Regions from separate parts of the Homo sapiens genome. Here region 2 is linked to region 1. Evidence: promoter capture Hi-C in 16 types of primary human blood cells and fetal thymus (Javierre and others, 2016). All regions are on one chromosome and are shown on one strand. The core of a region is centred on a gene start or on the middle of the fragment in contact, and the rest is flanking DNA. Distances in the headings are between cores, read along the strand shown.

The links. Contacts are between HindIII fragments. The CHiCAGO score rates a contact against its expected background, and 5 or more counts as called.
Region 2: a fragment that was not itself captured here is called in contact with the fragment with the promoter of HTR1B in region 1 in 1 of 17 cell types (total B cells); the score reaches 6.2 in total B cells.

What each region holds. Positions count from the first base shown.
Region 1 is chr6:77,460,529-77,467,252 of GRCh38, reverse strand. HTR1B (5-hydroxytryptamine receptor 1B) reads left to right here and starts at 3,762. Exons shown (of 1, transcript NM_000863.3): 1 at 3,762-6,329. The coding sequence starts at 3,850. The coding sequence ends at 5,022. All of the region lies in intron 5 of LOC105377864, which reads right to left. RefSeq lists enhancers at 713-772, 983-1,032 and a silencer at 4,752-4,896. The HindIII fragment of the contact is 3,027 bases long and covers 3,378-6,404 here.
Region 2 is chr6:79,805,662-79,812,491 of GRCh38, reverse strand. It overlaps LINC01621 (long intergenic non-protein coding RNA 1621), which reads left to right and starts at 246. Exons shown (of 5, transcript NR_131786.1): 1 at 246-372; 2 at 942-965; 3 at 5,151-5,278; 4 at 6,444-6,596. RefSeq lists an enhancer at 4,821-6,020. The HindIII fragment of the contact is 1,008 bases long and covers 1,592-2,599 here.

The sequences.
Region 1 (6,724 bases), core at 2,513-5,012:
GTATGCTTCCCTTGACAGTGTCCAGTCTGGTTAGCGCTGCGCTTTAAACTTCCCAGCCTGCGCCTCGAATTTGGTGCTGCAGCTGTAGAACTACATCTTCCTAGCATGGGAGAGGGTTCCTCGAGGATTCATTTTTCTTTGGTTCCTCCGCAGCCAGCTCACCGCTAGGATCTGGTTTTGTGTCGGTTCACTGACTTCATTTCAGTTCCAGAGTTATTCTCCACTTACTCAGCTTCTGCCAAACGTACACGTGCGTGGAATTGATAATAAGGGAACCACATTAATTCGCAGTTTTAGTGCCCGGTGTTCATACGGGAGCTTATTTCTACTCAACTAAGTTTTGCTGCGCTCAGGTAATCCATCTCCACCCTTTCCCTTCCGCTACTGATTCCCTCTCTGCTCCTCCCCTGTCAGGTGAATTTCCCCCAAAACTTGCCTGGAGGTTCCTTCTAGCGCCGCTGGGGACTGCAGAGCTGGCACTTGGACCTTACCCAGCGACCCCTACTCCGAAGGGGTGACCCAGGCACAGGCGACTTTACAGGGTCTCTTTCTCTCTTGGGTGTTTCACACACATGCGCCTCTGTGCAAACACCTATGTTTTATGTGTTTTAAAGTGAGAAAGGAATACTTGAAATGCGGAAGTCAGGTTAAGGAAATGGGGTTCTTCACTGAACTCTGCCAACATCCGGTCAATATGATGGCGGTGTGTGTTTAAGCAGCTCTTTACCAAAGAGGGTAAAATCAAACTGCCTACAAGGGGCGGATTCCTCTGGGAGTCTGGGACTCTGCGAAGCAGTGGAGGCATGGCTGGAGAAAGCCACAGGTCCCCAAACCGCTAAAGCCAAAAACCGTGTGGGGAACAAATTTTGCTTTGTTTTTTCTCCGTCCCATGCTCCCGAGCAGAAATTAAAAGAGGAAAGGTCGCATGGAGCTGGTTACATTCCTGTCGGCCTTCCCCCGCTTCCCATCCCTTTAACACTTGTCTCTAATCGTTTCCAGTTCTCCTAGGATAACGGGAAAATTGTTTCCTGGCACCCCGCACTCCCACAGGACACACCCGCAATCGCACACACTTTTGATCCGTCCTGGCCAATGCCCCCACCTAGCGGTTTAAACTCGCCGGCTTTGCTTCCCTCTTCTATGGTTTCTAAGTGAGCGCTGCAGTTGACAAAAATAATTGTTTATCTAGGTGGATGGGGTGGGAGAATGGGAAGGATCCCTTAAAATGTGGTGAAAATGAGGCTTAAGGTTGGTGGCAAAATGCTAGGTGCTAGGACTGGAGGAGAAAAAGAGAGAAGGCTGTGCTTTTATCCTCAGGGTGGCTGCTGCAGCCCAGACCGCATCTAGAGGACGTCCTTGAAGAGCTGCCACCTTAGTTAAAGGAGTACCCTCACTCTCAATGCATGCATGTGTGTATGTGTGTTTTTCTTCAAAACACTTAACACTACAGAAAAGTATAAGTATTAATTATTTACTTGTTCATGTAGTTATTGTCTGTCTCTTCTAGAATGTAAACTGCTGGAAAAGAGGGTCTGAGTCTACTCCCACTGGCCTCCATACCTCGGATGCCTAGAAAAATACTCAGCATAGAGTAGGCACTCTATTTTTTGCCTGCTTGCCTGGTTTAGAGAACCGGGAATTAAGGGAACTTGGGTTTGTGCTTTATTGCCTTGGGTAAAAAGCTCTTCTTTCAAAGGATCTCAATTACTCTTCCTCTAAAACTGGGTGGAGGGATCAGATCAGATAGCCTTAGGTTCTGACACAGAATGATTCTCTTTAAAATATATGTGCGCTTAAACAGATGAATTCATTTACAATGCAGTTTTTATTAGATACACTCTAGGTGCCAAACATGGATCTAGGCTCTAGGAATTCGTAGTGGGGATCATTTAATCCTTCGAGCTGAAAATACCTTGTCCTTTCCTGGAGCTTTTCTTCATACTTTCTGATTTGCATCTCTACCCTACATTTGTTTCTGTTGAGGTCAGAGGAGAAACTGAGGACAGGGGATCCGTCCCTGGTCATGAGACCTAGGTACTGGTATTGCATGCTGCAGCTTATGGCTGACATTCCCACATATTAGTTGAAGGCAAAGGAGACACACAAGATGGTGCTGATGATGGTTCCAGTCCTCCCCGCCCCACCATCCCCCTTTTTTCTTGAATTCTGATGACCTCCTTTCTAGGTAGGCTGTTGGAAGGAACACGCTTACTGGCAACTGTTTTCCAGAGGCACTGAAGCACTGAGCAGCTGGAAGAGGATGGTGGAGCAGAAGGTTTAATTTCACATACAGTTGGCTTCTGTTTGTGATAACTTTTACATTTTCGCAGATAGCTTGTCTTTTTCCCTGTTGACTCATAGTTGAGTGAAAAACACAAATTTCTAAAACTAGATGAAAAAATAGTTTTTATTGTATCAAGAGTTAAGGACGGCAAAGTACAAAATGCAAACATTGGGCCCTCTACAGCGATATTACTGGTGCCTCCTAACCTGGGTGTGGCCATCAGGGCTGGATATGATTTTAGAGCGGAGAGGTCAGAGACCAGGGCTTCCCCGCCTAACACTGGCCTCCTAGGGTGGGAGTGGTAGGCAGGAGCCTAGGGCCAGACTGCTGGACTAAACCTGTGACCATGGCTAAGGACATGGGTCTCACTGGAGGTCAGCGCAGCAAGCTCTGATGTCCGTAGAGGCGAGAACAGGACGCCTTCTTCCCCTGACCAGAAATGCAGCTCCAGGTTGTCAGGGCTGGGAGGATGGCCCAGGGTGGGAAGCGGGGAGATAGGGCGGTAGGACCCGGCGGGAGCTTCCTTGGCCAGGAAAGGAACAGGGCGGGGGGAAAAGAGGGAGGGAGAGAGAAAAAGGGAAGGTGATGGGGAGCGGGCGTCCGCACCCGCCGCGCCGCACGAGTTGCACTGCTCTGGCGGACCGGACCTGGACTCTATATAAAGAGCCCATCTGCTCCGTAGCTCGCACGCTTCTCCCGGGCTGGTGCACGCCGCGTCCCTCCAGCTCCCCCAGACACCTGCCCCTTCCCAGTGTGCCGCGCCAGGTCCTCCAGACCCGCGCACCCAGTGGCATGGCTCCGAGTGGCTCCCGTGGGACCAGGGTGGCGGTGGCGGCGGCGCGGCCCGAGCAGCCGCAACTCCAGCCCCCGTGTCCCCCCTTTTATGGCTCCGTCTCCGCGGGGCAGCTCGTCCGAGTGGCCAGAGAGTGAAAAGAGAGGGAGGGCAGAGCTCCGGCGCGAGGCGCGGCGCAGCGCTGCTCCTAGACTTCACCCCACCCAGCTCTGGCGGCCGCTGCAGCCCCCCAAAAGTGCCCCAGCTTGGGGCGAGGGGTGGGAATGCAAGATCTCGGGACCTCTCGCTGGCCTGCAAGCTTTGGTCTCTACACCTAGGAAACTCCTGTGGGCAAAGTCTGCAGATCCAAAAGCGTCCAGGTTAGGAGACGCTCAGCCTCAAGCAACTGGGGTAAGAGATCCCATTTGGTCAAAGCCTTCTCCTCAAGCAGTACTTCACCCTCCTGCACTAGACGCCTCCAGGGAGCTGGAGCGGAGCAGGGCTCGGTGGGCCAGCTCTTAGCAACCCAGGTCTAAGACCCGGTGTGGAGAGGAACAACCACAGACGCGGCGGCTTAGCTAGGCGCTCTGGAAGTGCAGGGGAGGCGCCCGCCTGCCTTGGCTGCCGCACCCATGACCTCTAGTTTCAGCTGTGAACCTGGGCGGAGGAATAATTGAGGAACTCACGGAACTATCAACTGGGGACAAACCTGCGATCGCCACGGTCCTTCCGCCCTCTCCTTCGTCCGCTCCATGCCCAAGAGCTGCGCTCCGGAGCTGGGGCGAGGAGAGCCATGGAGGAACCGGGTGCTCAGTGCGCTCCACCGCCGCCCGCGGGCTCCGAGACCTGGGTTCCTCAAGCCAACTTATCCTCTGCTCCCTCCCAAAACTGCAGCGCCAAGGACTACATTTACCAGGACTCCATCTCCCTACCCTGGAAAGTACTGCTGGTTATGCTATTGGCGCTCATCACCTTGGCCACCACGCTCTCCAATGCCTTTGTGATTGCCACAGTGTACCGGACCCGGAAACTGCACACCCCGGCTAACTACCTGATCGCCTCTCTGGCGGTCACCGACCTGCTTGTGTCCATCCTGGTGATGCCCATCAGCACCATGTACACTGTCACCGGCCGCTGGACACTGGGCCAGGTGGTCTGTGACTTCTGGCTGTCGTCGGACATCACTTGTTGCACTGCCTCCATCCTGCACCTCTGTGTCATCGCCCTGGACCGCTACTGGGCCATCACGGACGCCGTGGAGTACTCAGCTAAAAGGACTCCCAAGAGGGCGGCGGTCATGATCGCGCTGGTGTGGGTCTTCTCCATCTCTATCTCGCTGCCGCCCTTCTTCTGGCGTCAGGCTAAGGCCGAAGAGGAGGTGTCGGAATGCGTGGTGAACACCGACCACATCCTCTACACGGTCTACTCCACGGTGGGTGCTTTCTACTTCCCCACCCTGCTCCTCATCGCCCTCTATGGCCGCATCTACGTAGAAGCCCGCTCCCGGATTTTGAAACAGACGCCCAACAGGACCGGCAAGCGCTTGACCCGAGCCCAGCTGATAACCGACTCCCCCGGGTCCACGTCCTCGGTCACCTCTATTAACTCGCGGGTTCCCGACGTGCCCAGCGAATCCGGATCTCCTGTGTATGTGAACCAAGTCAAAGTGCGAGTCTCCGACGCCCTGCTGGAAAAGAAGAAACTCATGGCCGCTAGGGAGCGCAAAGCCACCAAGACCCTAGGGATCATTTTGGGAGCCTTTATTGTGTGTTGGCTACCCTTCTTCATCATCTCCCTAGTGATGCCTATCTGCAAAGATGCCTGCTGGTTCCACCTAGCCATCTTTGACTTCTTCACATGGCTGGGCTATCTCAACTCCCTCATCAACCCCATAATCTATACCATGTCCAATGAGGACTTTAAACAAGCATTCCATAAACTGATACGTTTTAAGTGCACAAGTTGACTTGCCGTTTGCAGTGGGGTCGCCTAAGCGACCTTTGGGGACCAAGTTGTGTCTGGTTCCACAGGTAGGTCGAATCTTCTTTCGCGGTTTCTGGGTCCCAGCGAGGCTCTCTCTCCTGGGCAAGGGCAATGGATCCTGAGAAGCCAGAATAGTCCTGAGAGAGAGCTCTGAAAGGAGAAGTGTTGAAACTAAATGTAGAGCTTCCCTGCCCAGGAGGAGGCTCACTTCCTCCCCTCAAGCCCCGGGCTCAGCACTGACCCTGCGGCAGCCAATCCCAAAGGGGGTTGCAACTTTTAAAAATTGATAATGGAAGGGAATCCCTGCCCTGCTTTGGTATCGTGGATAATGCCCACTAGAAGCAGTGTACTTGTAATTGTTGTCTGAAGCCTGTCTGAGACAGATCTACATACAGCCTGGCAGTACTTGAACTAGACGCTTAATGCCCTGTGTTTTTGGGGGGAGAACTTTGTGTTACAGCTTAATTTAAGAACAGTTACTTTGGCATCATTCAGTCTTCACTTTTTGTCTATTTAAACTTGGTTGGAGAAACTTGTGGATTTGGTGCTTCAAACCCTATGTGTGGCTTGGATGGCGCAGAGAAACCTTGAAGAGTTAACAGCAAAATTCTGATGCTGAGATCTCTATTTTTATTATACTTGAAACTATATGGGGGTGGGTGGGTGGGAATGGGAGATGAGGAGTGTTAAACTGAGAATCAACACCTATGATTGTTTGTTTTCTGCAGATTTACAATTTTGTAATTCCTGTTTAGCGATTGTCAAGCCACAACTCTAACAAACAAACCATTATGTGTGCTAGTGCCGAAGTCTGCAGACTGCTTTATTTTTTCTCTTAATTTCATGTACCTGTCACTTTACACATTTAAATCCCCATAAATGAAGGGTATGATGGGTGACTCAGCCCACACTGCTGCTATATTTCTTACTAATGCAATTGGTAAAACCGATTAGTATTGGAAATATACTGTTTCTTAACAAGAAAAGTGTCTTTATTTCTTATCCAATTTAGTGAGATGTGAAGGAGACTGATGACATGGGGATAGTTCTTACACAATTGAGGAATGGGGTGGGGGCAATAGGAGGATGTATATTTTGACTTGTAAAAAAATCTTAAAATGCATGAAACTTTTATCTGATAGTCATTTGCACTCTCCTTCCCATCTGTGATTCCTTGTGTGCTAACATATAAAGAAACCAAGAGAACTATCTTCCTTCTCCAGAAACCTTAAAAATACAGTTAAGGGCCCTAAAAACGATATTGAAAAGAAAATAAACTTGTTTCTTTTTTGTTGTTGTTGTTATTGAAGTTTGGGCAGGAGAAAAGATTGCTAGAAAATGACATATAAGAACTTTAGAAAAGCTTAGAGAAACTAAAATTGAGCCTGTTTTTGTCTTGTTTTTTGTTTGTTTAAAAAAGAAAAAATTGCAGAACCAAACCTCAGACTTACTAACAATCAGGAAACTGGCAAGCTTTTGACCTTTGTAAATTTGTTACCAACCTGATATCTCAATTAATATAATATCTGGAATACTTTAAATTTATCAGTCTTTTCAAATTTCAAGAATACTTAGTTATTTCAAATTTCCTCTGAGAGCTCCCTAATACAGGATAAAGTCATGAAATAAAATATGAAAAAAATGTATATTTTAATAAGAAGTAGCCCTGAGGGATTATCTGCACG
Region 2 (6,830 bases), core at 846-3,345, 2.3 Mb before region 1:
GGACCCACGTGCTGAGAACCACTGCATTAAGGTAACTGCTCCTCCTGGCCACCTGGAAACCTACCTCCCTTGCCTGAAACCTGAGCTCACTGAGAGGGCTGGCACGGGCGGGAATGGGTCAATGAGTTTGTCCAGGGAACATGGAAGCTTTTGAAATGGGAGGAAGGGACATTCCCAAAGCCCCTTTCTTGGCACTGCCCCCAGTCAAGCTGCTACTCAGGTGAGAATGCTGTTTGAAGGGAAGCAGCTTGGTGCAGAACCAGGAGAGCCAGCCGCCTCAGTTAGAGCCTCGGAATGAAGATTCAGAGCACTCTGGACCCACTGAGAGACTTGCTCATTTTCTGGGCACCAAATAATCCTCCCAATTTTTAGGTAAACCCAGGGAGGAGGGGAGGAAACAAATAATGAAGATTGAATTTCTTGCAATTCAGTGACATAGGGGATGGCAGCCATATTGAATTTGATTTGAAGAAAATAGGTATTTCCTGCCTACCCAACTTTTAGTAGATGCCACATCAACTACATGAATTTCTGGATTAAAACATACAATCTACATATATTAATATTTGTGGCCTTAATACAAGTTCTACCCTTGCCGTGGCTCTGTGTTCACTTGGCAGGGAGGGGCAGAGCTTATAAACTGAGCTGTGCAAATCTCACCCTTGTTCAACCATGTCTTGCTGAGCAGGCACATGGGGGCTGAAACCTAATCAGGCTGAGAGAAAAGGGTGACGTTTGCTAATTTTCTAATGTACCCACATAACTCCTGCATAATCTGACATCATATGAATATATCACACTTAAGGCATTTTCTCATTGACTTCTACGTGGTTTCTACTTTTCATTGCTATAACAAATATCCTAATACGTTTCTCCTGCACTTGTGGGTTTTTTTGAATTAGATACCTGAAATTTTGACTTGATTTTTTTTTTTCTTACAGAAATTCTGTCAATGGGACATGCATGTGAGTTTAGAAGCAATTCTTTCTTTAATATGCAGAGGCTTCTGGGAGTGCTCAGGCCATCAACCAAAGGTGTTCATTAGCCCATACAAGCTGCTTTCCTCAATTTCTAGATGAGATGTACTGTTATGAGAAAATGGAAGAAAAATTACAGGAGAACAAATAGGGAATTGCTAAGATATGTACATCTGTAGTGAGGAGAGGAGTTGGGGGCTTGGGGGCAGGGGTGAAATGCCTAGCGACTTAAATGACATAAGGCACTGATTTCTTGAGTGTTGAGTAAAGGGATGTTAGAAGATAGAAAATTGCCAAGGATTAGTTTGTAACTCAAAATTATAGCTCAGTCCAATCCCATTTCCCACTAAGAGGGGGAAACATCTTTGTCTCCCTCTTCTTTCCCCTCTCCCACAGGAGTAGCTGACTCCTCCCTGTTCCAGGACCCAGGGCTCAGGCTGACTTGTGTTAAGCTTCCATCTGGGTTAAACAGATTTCAGGAAGATCACGTGGAAAATTAAATGCCACCGCAGCATTGTTTCTATAGGAAATGAGTTTCTCTTTGCAAACAATTATTTGCTTTCGGTACACAACCACTTATCATAAGGAGGGAGCCTGTCTGTGCTTATAAAGCTTAAATTTGAAGGACTCCAGTTATCTTAATTTAAAATTAAAATAGCCTAATTTGAGAAGAAACCATGTTCTTAAATTTCCAATAGATGTTCCAATATGTATTTACTGCAATTTCTATGTTGGGGTGGTTTGTTGTCATTTTAAAAGTGAGGCTGGAACACTATAATATGTCCTGTCTTCTTTTTGCCTGTTAAACAAGGCGAGCTAGGGCAGCTTCTCAAAAGGCTCAAGAGGCACAGTCAGTGATCTCAGGCCACCCTGGATGGCGGGAGGCCACGAGAGGGGGCTTGCACCACCAGCTGCAGGGAATTGTTAAATTCCTGACCTAGTTTTTGAAACTATTCAAGGAGAAAGCAGGGACACAAATACTAGCTCTAGCCTCGTTCAATGAGACCACGTTCCTGTTTTCATTTCACTTTAGCCGCATTTGTTCGAGCAGCAGGTGAAGCGCCTTTCAAAAGACTGTCATCTCCAAGGGAAGTCATCTGTTTTACATTAATTGTCCATTAGTCTCCAAGCCTCGATCCATTAAAGTCCTCAGCCACTCATTACGTATATTGTGCAGGAGTCCTGCTGTCAGCTTTTCAATGCAGAGCTGTTTTTCTGCATCTGACTTAATTGCTCTAAGTGCCTGTTCCTTTGAGAGAGCCTAGAGTGTACCAATTAATGCTAACTTTTTCCTTGCTAGGTTGAACACATAAGCCATGGTGAGGCCAGTTCAGCTGCTATTTACTCGAATTTATTAGAGACCCTTCTGCCTTAAGCTCACACAGTGGGTAGTTTACATCAGTACTGCCCTGTTTGCCTGATGACTCCTGGATATGTTTTGAATGGACTTAATTTTCTATAGTGAAAATGCTCCATAAATTTACAATCTATCCATGTTATTTTGAAGAGGGGTTTAAATTCCATTTGCTCCTGATTAGTTTAAACATGTAATTTTTAAATGCATGTGGCATTCTAAACAACAGCTTGGATGAAATTGACTTTGTTGATGGAAAAATTAAGCTTTCATCCTTTCAAATGACAGCTCGAGGGGTGGCCGTACAATAATTTAATTACCGTAGCTTCCTTAATTACAGCCGACTCACCTACCTTTAGCTCCATTACCGTTTTCCTTAATAAACACGAATAAATGGACGAAAAACAAAAATTAAGAAAACCAATCTTAGAGTAGCTTTTATAAAATTTTGATAGGCATAGAGGCAAATACAAATATGTGAGACTCAGAGAAACATATTAACCCCTTCAACTCTAAAAGAACTAGAAAAACCACAATTTTGTTTTTTTCTTTTTAAAATTGTACCATAGTCCCACTTATTAATACTAAATTTTATATTTTATTAATATTCAAAATATCCAATCAATATAAATTCCTGTCAAGATGGTAATATATCTATAAATTCAGATTCTGAGTAATGACCTGATATTAATTGAATTTATTGCAGGTTTTTAAATCTTTACTACAGTTTAATTCCATCCTATAACTAAGTTTGTTAACAAATGGCCCTGTTAATATATAATTAAGTACCTGTGTATTGATTTGCTTAATTACATCTAAACAATACCAAAAAATAAAAACCACACAGATGCACCCAGACTGATTTAAATTGCAGGATATCATGAAAATTAAAGACAGACTTCTGTGTCTTATTTCCTGAGGATTGTTGGGGAAATATGCACTTTTGGCATAAGCAAACTACTTAGAACAAAAATAGCAACCATTCTGGGAAACATTTACATTAGGTGAAATCTGTCTCTGAGGCTGTCTGCCTTCCACCCAAGAGCTCCCTGACATGGCAGCGTCCCCTCTCCTCTCTATTCTCTCACCTTCCTCAGCTGGAGGCCAGTCGTGTATCTCATGTCACATGGCCCTGGTTAGTAACAAGGCATTATTAGCAAAGACAGCTATTTAGAGGTAGGGTTTTGAACTCTCTGAGGATTATCATTTTCTTCATCTTCACTATCTTCATCCTCATCTTCAATCAACAGTTTTGAGAGCAGACTGTGTACAGAGCACAGAGAGCCACTGAAGTTGTTCCCCTCTCCCCAAAATAGTAACCTTTATCATCTAGATGAATGAGCTCCTCTGATAAATTCTACAAGTATTGTTTCTGCTTCATGGGCATTGAGAGTGGCCTCCTCCATCTTTACAGAAGGAAATTATCACCTCCAAGTTAGACTAGTTTATTCCTAGAAAATTCCTTCAATACCCCCTCATCTGTAGGATATTCATTTAAAAATCCTATCAGCTTTTTTTCTCAACAGTTTTCAGGAAGAGAGCTTTGGAAAATACTAAAATATCAGTCTAACAAATTCAAAGACATATATTAGGGCCTTTAAAACCTCATACACTTCCCCTTGGCCTCCCGGATAATGCTCCTTAATCCTAATTAGCTTTTACAGCATGATTAGTGTTTGCCAATGATGATTAGAGGTGCCAAATTCACCAAACCAATTAGTAGCAGAATTGTAGGATCCTGGTGCGGCTTTATTTTGATTCTGATTCACCTTTTACATCATCTTTGTCGTTGCCTCATTTGTCCAAGGTAGCAATGCTTCTATATTTCTGTGTTCTCATTTTGACTGTAGTGTTTTGATTGAGAGTCTGGAATGTTGTTCACACAAGGGGAATCTTGCCCAAAAGAATATTACTTCTAAGGTCTTCACTCAGGAGTTTAGTCATGTACTTGTGCTGCCTTTGTATTAAAACTCTTTGTATTAAAACCCTTCTGATTATGGTTGAATCTGTTCCCCACCTCTGACAGATACACCATAGGGTGACCCCTAATGAGTCATGCTCTTAATCCCCTTGCCATGAATGTGGGTGGAAATCATAACTTGCTTTTAACCATAAGATACAACAAAAGTAAGGAAATACCACTCCTGTAATTATATTTATGGCAAAGTCGAAGGGACTTTTTTCAGGTATAATTAAGATCCCTAATCAAGTGACTTTTAGTTAAACAAAAGAGCATTTACCCTCAGTGGGCCTGGCCAAATCAGTGAGCTTTTTAAAAGAGGGTCCAGGCCCTCCCTGAAGTTCGAGACCTGAAGCAGTAAAGACTCTTATTTCTGTTGCTGGCTTTGAAGAAGCAAGCTGCCATTAATTCTACAGTCATAAAGACATGAATTCTGCCAACAACCTGCAGGAGCTTAGAAGCAGATCCTAGCATTTCCATTGCATCCTCCAGATGAGAATGCAATCCACCTTGATTTCAGCCCTGTGAGACCCTGAGCAGAGAACCCAGTTATGACATGCCCAGATTCCTGACCCACAAAAACTGTGAGATAACAAATGGGTATGGTTTTTAGGCCATCAAATGTGTGATTATTTATTATGCAGCAATAGGAAATTGATGCACCACTCTTGCAATAAAGATACTTTGTTTTATTATCCAGTATCCCATATATCGTTTTTAAATAAGTAGATCATTATACATGAACTCCACACAAGGGCTTCTTATACTTTGTTGTTAGAAAACTTACCCAAGTCACATCTCAGGCTCTAGAGATGACTTACCATCTAACCCTTATGTTTCCTATCGACTTTACTGTTAGATAAACTAGAAGATTTGGTGCCCAGCATGAAGAATAGTTCCTTTCAAGTACCTGTATGTCCTGAATGTATTCCTTCCAGTGGGTTCTTGGTCTCGCTGACTTCAAGAATGAAGCCTTGGACCCTCGTGGTGAGTGTTACAGTTCTTAAAGATGGTGTATCTGGAGTTTGTTCCTTCAGATGTTCAGATGTGTCCAGAGTTTCTCCATTCCAGTGGGTTCGTGGTCTCGCTGACTTCAGGAGTGAAATCGCAGACCTTTGCAGTGAGTGTTATAGCTCTTAAAGGTAGTGCAGACCCAAAGAGTGAGCAGCAGCAAGATTTATTGGAAAGAGCAAAAGAACAAAGCCTCCACAGCATGGAAGGGGACCGGAGCGGGTTACCTCTGCTGGCTTGGGTGGCCAGCTTTTATTCCCTTATTTGGCCCCGCCCATGTCCTGCTGATTGGTCCATTTTACAGGGTGCCGATTGGTCCATTTTGCAGAGTGCTGATTGGTCCATTTTACAAAGTGCTGACTGGTGCATTTACAATCCTTTAGCTAGACATGGAGTGCTGATTGGTGCGTTTTTACAGAGTGCTGATTGGTGTATTTACAATCCTTTAGCTAGATAGAGAGCACTGATTGGTGTATTTACAATCTTTTAGCTAGATACAGAGCACTGATTGGTGCATTTTTACAGAGTGCTGATTGGTGCATTTACAATCCTCTAGATAGAAAAGTTCTCCAAGTCCCCATTCGACCCAGGAAGTCCAGCTGGCTTCACCTCTCACCTGGACACATCTGTCCTTTGGCTACCTTTACATCAGTGGTTCTTTCACATTTTGGTCTCAGGGTTTCTTTACATCAAAAATAATTGAGGACCCAAAGAAACTGTGTTTATTTGAGTAATGTTTATCATCTACTACATTAGAAATTAAAATGGGATGAATTTTAAATCATGAGAATGCACAGGCACACATTCCGTTAGCAGTCAATAACATCATCACTCAGCATGGGAAAACCCACGGGTTGCTTGTGAAAGAGTGAAAGGAAAACACGAGGTAACATCATAGTATTATTACAAATTGACCTTGCAGATCTGAAGGGTCTTGGGAACCCCTGGAAATCACACTTTGAGACCACATCTTGAAAACCATTGCTTTATGTTTTTAGCATTTTTTGTTTTATATTGCATTAAATTTTATTAAGCCAACTTACATAAGTTTATAAAATATGAGGTAAACTTTTTTTAAAAAATGAAAAAGGCAAAATACTAGCTATGTAATTGTGCTGTTTATTCCCCACCTGCCCCACAGATATGTGCTCACCCTTCTCTGCTCAGCTCTGTGCCTGGGAGGCTGACCTCTACAAACTGCATCACCAGGCTTCCGCCCTCTGGCTTCCAGATGGATTTGGCCAATGGGCAGCACCAGTGGGAAAGGAGAGGACAGGAGGAGAGACAGGCTGAGGTCATGTATTTATCCCCCTCTTCCCTACCCCATGACAGTTCTGACAGGCAGCCCCTCCGTTTCTCCAGCTCTCAGCTGAGCTCCAGTAACAAGCTTCCTTCTCTTTCCCCTTTAGGGTTGGGGTGGCAAGAGCCACCACCTGGGTGTCTCACTATATCTTGTTGGCTTCCCTAATCCTGCCTACATTAATCATTTTTTTTAAATTTCAAACTCTCTTGATGCTTCCATTTGTTT